2 separate regions of the Homo sapiens genome follow, and region 1 is linked to region 2. Evidence: promoter capture Hi-C in human tissues and cell types (Jung and others, 2019). All regions are on one chromosome and are shown on one strand. Each heading gives the region's core, a stretch centred on a gene start or on the middle of the fragment in contact. The rest is flanking DNA. Distances are from core to core; before and after follow the strand shown. Region 1 has its middle 2.9 kb from the start of SIRPB2. Region 2 holds the start of SIRPG (signal regulatory protein gamma).

Region 1 (3,677 bases), core at 699-3,198, 160 kb before region 2:
GAAGGTTCTGGGTGCAGAGGAAGCTGAAGATTCTCCAGCAACAGGGTGGCAGGCCTTGGATCTGAGTATGTCCCCTGGGTCCCAGAGGTCTGGTGTCTACTATGAGGAGGTTAGTCTGGCCTGGTCCCCAAGGACTTTGCACTGGGTCTGTGACTGGTCTTTTCTAGACTTTTGAGGCCTTGCATTGATACCCCTGCTCAATTCCATTACTCCCTCTACTTGTTCTCCTGTCAATGAGATCTATATAGTGAAACTTCTTTGAAAGGGCCACAAGCCTAGATGATTCCACCAGACCCTCAGTACTTTCCATGTCATTCTTACACGGGAATTTCTGAATCACCTGCTCATCTATGCAGATTTCTTTCTCAGCTATTGTTTTTTTCTAAAGTTTTACTTACAAATAATTTTATTTTAATAGGCAAGGCATTGTATTGGTTAGCTATTGCTGCATAACAAAGCACCCCAAAATTTAGAAGCTTAAAAACTAAATGTTCAGTTAATTTACTATTTTGTGGGTTGACAATTCAGTCAGGGCTCCATTTGGTGGTTCGGTCTTCTCATCTCAGCAGATTTTGGCTGGGAATGTTCATGCACTTGAGGTCAGCTGCAGGTTGGCTAGGTGGCTTTGTTACTGCGGTTGACTGATTGTTAACCCAGGTACCTCAGCTGTCCTCTATGTGGTCTCTCATCTTCCAGGACACTAACTTAGTCTTGTTCTCATGAAAGGGGCAGTTTTGAGAGACAGTGCAAGGTACAAGGAAACTTCTGCCATATTCTTTTGGCCACATCAAGTTACAAGACCAGACAAGATTCAAGGAATGGAAAATAGACTTTGCCTCTTGTTAGGGAACTGCAAAGCCTAATTGCAAAAGGTGTGGATACAAAGAGGGGGTATAGAATTGTGGATATTTTTGTGATTTATCTGCCATGGGCATCTACAGGTACAAAATTCAGAGGTCTCAGTGTCTCATTTATAGGGCTCCCAGACATTACTTTCCTTAGGGTTAACCACAGTCACCAGTTTTTGAAGACATTCATTTCCTTTACTGTTTCTGATCTAGTGCTCAGAAGCCAGGTTGAATATGGTTTCTTTGTGATGTCGTGGACTATGAACACCCTGGGAAGACAGGCCATGATCCCTTATGCTGTAGGAATCCCTAAACTCCATTCCCACCCCACCCCAGCATTTGGACCTCAGGACTGTGGGGTTGGCAGGACTCTAGCATCTCAACCCCTGTCTTCTCCCTCTTTTTCTTACTTCCTCACCAAGTCATAAGGGGAGGAGTTCCCCTTCTTTTCCTTCTGGTAGGGACTTTCCTAATCTCAGTCTTCTTCCTAACAGCTGGCCTTCTTTGTTCTAGATGGAATCCCTCCTGCCCCTTCCTCAAGACAGCAAGTCTCACACTCCAGCTTAGAATAGGAAAAAAGCTTCCAGGGAAGGAATTAAACTGCTGGGAGGTGGAGAAATGCAAAAGGAAATAGTTAAAAATGTTATATCTGTCACGTCATCTATAAAACACATGAAATGCGATTGCGCGTGAAGCACTGGCTTGCGATAATTGCTCAGTAACTAGGAACAGTGGCATTCCTCCTGGTCAGTGTGCTTGGGTATCACATGAACTATAGTGTCTATTACTAGCCTGAGTTAAGTTATCCTCAACAAGAGCACCCGAGGTATATATAGAACACAAGTCTACCCATAAAGCTTTTTTTCCTTCCACTACAAAAATGGAACTTTGTTAAAACAACAGCTTTTTGATTGTTTACCATAAAATGGAAAACATACTAAGCAAGCACAGGGAAAGCGTTCAACCTTAGCAGCAATCAAGTAAATACCAGTCTTAAAAAGAGCAACACTGGTGTCTTTGCAATCAGCATCTATCTCCACTTTTTCTATGCTCTCCTCTTTTTTTGGAGGTTCTAAAAGCCTAAGAACTGCATTTTCTGTAACTCTTTACCATCATTATTCTAGGAGAGAATAATGAACCAAGGAGAGGTTCTTGCTTAGATTTGGAAGGTAAAAGGAGAGGCATGCTTGCTTCTCTAGCCATGAAGAGGGGGCAGATACGTGAGAATTGGTGGATTTAATTTATGCAAATGTGAGGTTTTGCAGTGCTGCCTGTCTTCTATAAATCACCTCTAAAGCACAGGCAGCTGGCATCATTAGCAGCAGTTTCTGTGAGTCTCTCAGATTCCTGATTTTCCAAGAGCTACCAGTGAACTTGAGAGATAAAGCAGTGAGGATTTCCGATGGTCTGTAAACACCAAATGCCACAAGTCCCATGAGAACCAAGCATGGCTTTTTATGACCGAACACAAAAGTCATCCAGCCTCATTTCTTCTCTTTTCATTTAGGAGGAAGCATTTAGTGTCTCAATACTAAAGTCTCTAAGGTCCTCGAACTTGATTTTCTGCTATTGGCAATTTGTCCTGCCTTGTGGCTTGGTTTGCCTTTCTTACTCCCTTTTCCTGTTTCATGTCAAATCCCATGGCTTGCTTTTTGGTGTTTTTGTTTTAAATTTTTATGGAGTTCTGACTTACATACAGAAAAAGGCACAAACATTTAAATGTGCAGTTCAGTGAATTTTTAGACTTTTACATCCATATACATCTGTGTAATAACCACCCCAAGATGTAGAAAGTTCCTTCTTGTTTCATTCCATTCAATCTCTGGCCCCAGAGGCAGCCACCTCTGATTTCTATCACCATAGATTAGTTTTGCCTGTTTTTGGAGTCTTTAGGTTTTTCCAAATATAAGAGCATATCATCTGCAAACAAGGATAATCTGACTTCTTCCTTTACAATTTGGATGCCATTTTTTTCTTTCTCTTCTCTGATTGCTGTAGCTAGGACTTCCATTACTACACTGAATAACAGTGGTGAAAATGGGCATCCTTGTCATGCTCCAGGTCTTAGAGGATAGGCTTTCAGTCTCCCTCATTCAGTACGATACTAGCTGTGCGTTTGTCATATATGGGTTGTACTATGTTGAGGTATAGTCCTCCTAAATCCAGTTTTTTTGAGGATTTTTTTATCATGAAGGGATGTTACATTTTATCAAATGCTTTTTCAGCATCAATTGAAATGGTCATATGGTTTTTGTCCTTCATTCTGTTGATATGATGTATCACATTTATTGATTTGTGTATGGTGAACTATCCTTGATGCTTGCATCCCAGGAATAAATCCCACTTGGTCATGATGAATGAGCTTTTTAATGTATTGTTGAATTCAGTTTACTAATATTTTGTTGGGATTTTTTGCAACAATATTCATTAGAGATATTGGTCTGCAGTTTTCCTTTTTCTATGTGTTTTTATGTGGTTTTGGCATCAGGGTAATACCGGTCTCATAGAATGAGTTTGGAAGTATTCGCTCCTCCTCTATTTTTTGGAATAGTTTGAGTAGGATTGGTAATAGTTCTTCTTTAAATGATTGGTAAAATTCAGCAGTGAAGCCACTGTTTCTTTACTGGGAGACTTTTTATTATAGCTTCAATCTCGTTACTTAATACTGGTCTGTTCAGGTTTTGGATTTCTTCATGGTTCAATCTTGGTAGGTTGTATGTGTCTAGGAATTTGTTTATTCTTTCTAGATTTTCCAATTTATTGGCATAAAGTTGCTCCTAATGATGCTTGGAATTTCTGCAGTATCAGTTGTGATGTCTCTTTTTTCAT
Region 2 (3,303 bases), core at 157-2,656:
GATTAGTTGACTTAATACACACAAAATGCTAAGAAGTGCATCTGCCTTACAGGAAGAGAGCAATTGCTGAACTATTACTGCTGTCATTTGGGTACAGTGTATGTGTAAAAAAAATAATTTGAAAAGTGAGACCTTGCCCTCTAAGACCTGTGAGATGACATCACAGCAGGGCCCAGTGGGCAACTGAGAGGCTATTGTGCCCAGCCCTGTGACCGGGGGTCAGCTGCATGGTCTGAAAAAGGGGTGAAGACAGGCAGCCTGTCTGGGAGCTGTGAACAGGGCTCTCTCAGGTGGCACCAGGAAAGACCTCCCAATCCTGTCTGCCTGGGGGAAGGGAAAATAAATTCTCCAGAGGAAAGTCAAGATGACCAAGGGAGATGGTGGTGCCTGTTATGGGCTGAATGTGCCCCCAAAACGAATGGGTTGAAGCCCCAATCCCCAGCGCCTTAGAATTTGACCATATTTGGAGACAAGGTCTTTAACCCATTTATGCCCGAGGTTGCAATTTTTTTTTAATTTGAAAAATCAGACCTTGGCGATGCCCTTGAGCAGTAGGATATAAATAACTCCCGCAAGCTTAGTGATCCAATAACGGAGCACTAGGCATAAATGGGTGAAGCAATTTAGTTAAATGAGGTCACTGGCGGGGAGCCTTAATCCAATATGGCTGATGTTCTCATAAGAGAAAATGAGAATACAGACACACACAGAGGAAGACCATGTGTCAAGACACATGGAGGAGATGGCCTTCTACAAGCCAAGGAGAAAGACCTCAGTAGAAACTAACCCTGCTGGCATCTTGATTTTGCAATTCAGCCTCCAGAACTGAAAGAAAGAAAGTAAATGTCTATTGTTTTAGTTACTGAGTCTGTGGTGCTTTGTTGTGGAAGCCCTAAGAAAGGAATATAGGACGCTGTAAGCATGAAATGTGGAACTTCTTAAAGAGGAGGAGGGCACACAAAAATGGGTAGGAGGACTCAAGACAGGTAAGGATTTAATAATGATTCTTCTGTGTTTGTCAAATAAAATATTATAAAAATGTAACTAATTGTGATGGTGGCAGAAGCCTCACAAGGTTTGATGCCTCTGGTAGCCAGCTGCAGATCCACAGAGAAAGTGCTCAGCTCCCTGATCTTCTGCTCTTGGACAATGTCCAGTCCTTGACCTTCCTTGGCAGTGCTTGTGCTTATCTGAAATTGCTGCAAGTCCAGGGGCAAGGCTAGGTCCAGGAAGCAGGGAGAAAGGGTTCTAGCCCAATGCAATGCTCACCTGTAAGTCCCAGCAGTAGAGTCAGAAGCAGGAAAGGACCAGGAGGATGGGGCCAGGAGGCTGGGACAGGCATTTTGGAGACCTCAGAAGCCTGCTCTGTTCAAACGTCTGTTCTGGGGAGATGTCAGGCCCTGCTCTGAAGACAGAAGACAAGCCCTGCCTCCCTCAATTCAAGAGGAAGTGGCTATGATGGAATGCAACAGTAACCTGCTTCTAGATTGTGACTTACAAATCAGGCACAGTAGGCAGCTACAAAGCAAGGAGTTAATCGTGCTCCATTTTCAGGATAATCAGACAGGGTTAGCAGAAATAATGCTTCCTGCCTGCCTGGGACCTGTGCTCCCTCCTCGTGTCCCCAAACCCATTTTCAGGTCTTCTTGGTGATTTGCCATTTGAGGCTTTTAAGTCAAGAAAGATCTGTTGTTAGGTATTGTTTTCTAAAGTCTTTATTTCAAGACCCTAGGATGTGGTTGGCTTGTGGTCTTGTTCTGCACCAGCCTCAACCAAATGCCACTCCGCTGGACGTAGGAGAAGAGTTCACAGGACCTGCTCAACACTGGAGAGGAACCAGATCTTCTCCTGAAATGATTTTCTATTCCAAATTGCTATAATTGGCAACACTTAGCCCAAATTCAGTCTCTTGTGGACCTTAGCACTTTCATGTGCCTGCACCCAGCAGAAGGAATTATTTCTTGACTCCTTCCAGGAGAGAAACTGGGTTTGAGGTAATAAGCAACTGCTTTGTGGAGTGAGGTGGGGATTGTGGGTTATGGAAAGGGGATAGGGTTATCATGAGGGAAGATTATGGTGGGCAGGTTCCTGGGGCCGTCGCATCAATTTCAATACCCTTTCTTCTACACACAGAGCACCTATTTCATTCATCACTGAGTTCGGATGGGAAATGAGGAAAGAGGAAAAATCCATGCTCCTGCCAAGAGTGTGTGCCAAGGAGTTGGGGAAGTCGCTGGGCCCTCCTATGCTCAGTTTCAATCTCCTAAACTGGGAATAGTAAGTCTTTTTGTGCAGTGTTTTAGTGACGATTAAAGAGGTAATGAGCATATCATGCCTGAAACCCAGTAGGTCATTATTGATACTCACGGTGCCAGGTGAAGTGCGGGAACTCAAATGTTGCTTTTGAATGGATCCCTCCTGCATGCTGAGTTGCCCACCAGTGGCTTTCTCCCAGCAACCCAGGCCTCCTGAGACCCAGCTTATATAGTGTATTTGGACTCTCGCTGCCACCCTGAAATCAGTTTCTCCCTCTGGATTCTCTAAATCCCGCTCCTTGTTCAACCATAGATTAATTCCTCCTCTTACAATTTCCAGCTGTGTGATTTTCAAAAAGACACTACTTCTCTGAGCCTTGGTTTGATTGTATGTAAATAAATGTTAGAATATGCACCTTGTAGAGCTATGGTAGGAATAATATAAGCCATACTGAATGCTTGACTCATAATTAATTATAAGCAAAAAAACATGGCTATAATTATTTTCTGTGTACAGGAAGAGTCCACTGGTTCTCTGCCACCGTTGTGCCTTAGAAAAGCCACCTTGTTAAAAGAAATGATTTCTCTTCCAGCATCTATGACTAAGAAAGACCTGTCCAGAATCCTTCATCTCACATGTGGGTTTTAGGTTCTTAATCTGTCATGAATAATTGTCAAATCAAATTGTAAATGTTATCATGTTTTAATTGAAAGTCCTGTTTTAATGTGGCAGATGTACACAGGGTGAAATCTTCCCCTCCTTCTCCACACCCACAGTAGTGAAAACACAAAATGAAAAGAATATATGAATCAATGTCTAATTACACTTGAATACAAGCAATTGGCTTCTATATGACATGAAGGAATTATAACAGCTATCATTTATTGAGAGTTTCCTGTGCTCCAGATATGGTGCCAAGCATTTTTCTATTGGTAATGTCATTAAATCATTGCTCTGACCCCATGAGGTAAGCTCAACCATTAACCTCCTTTCACAGGTGAGAAAACCCGAGGCACATGGAGAGTAATGAATTTGCTCAAGATCACC

Evidence for each region. Contacts are between HindIII fragments. The study calls those that stand out against the background at their distance.
Region 1: a contact is called between a fragment that was not itself captured here and the fragment with the promoter of SIRPG in region 2, in 2 of the 25 tissues and cell types used here (H1 embryonic stem cells and spleen).

The regions. Positions count from the first base shown.
Region 1 is chr20:1,492,443-1,496,119 of GRCh38, forward strand. No RefSeq gene overlaps it. Among named protein-coding and RNA genes, the nearest start is that of SIRPB2, 2.9 kb to the left of the region's middle. The HindIII fragment of the contact is 3,719 bases long and covers 90-3,677 here.
Region 2 is chr20:1,656,373-1,659,675 of GRCh38, forward strand. It overlaps SIRPG (signal regulatory protein gamma), which reads right to left and starts at 1,407. Exons shown (of 6, transcript NM_018556.4): 1 at 1,270-1,407. The coding sequence starts at 1,342. The HindIII fragment of the contact is 12,235 bases long and covers 1-3,303 here.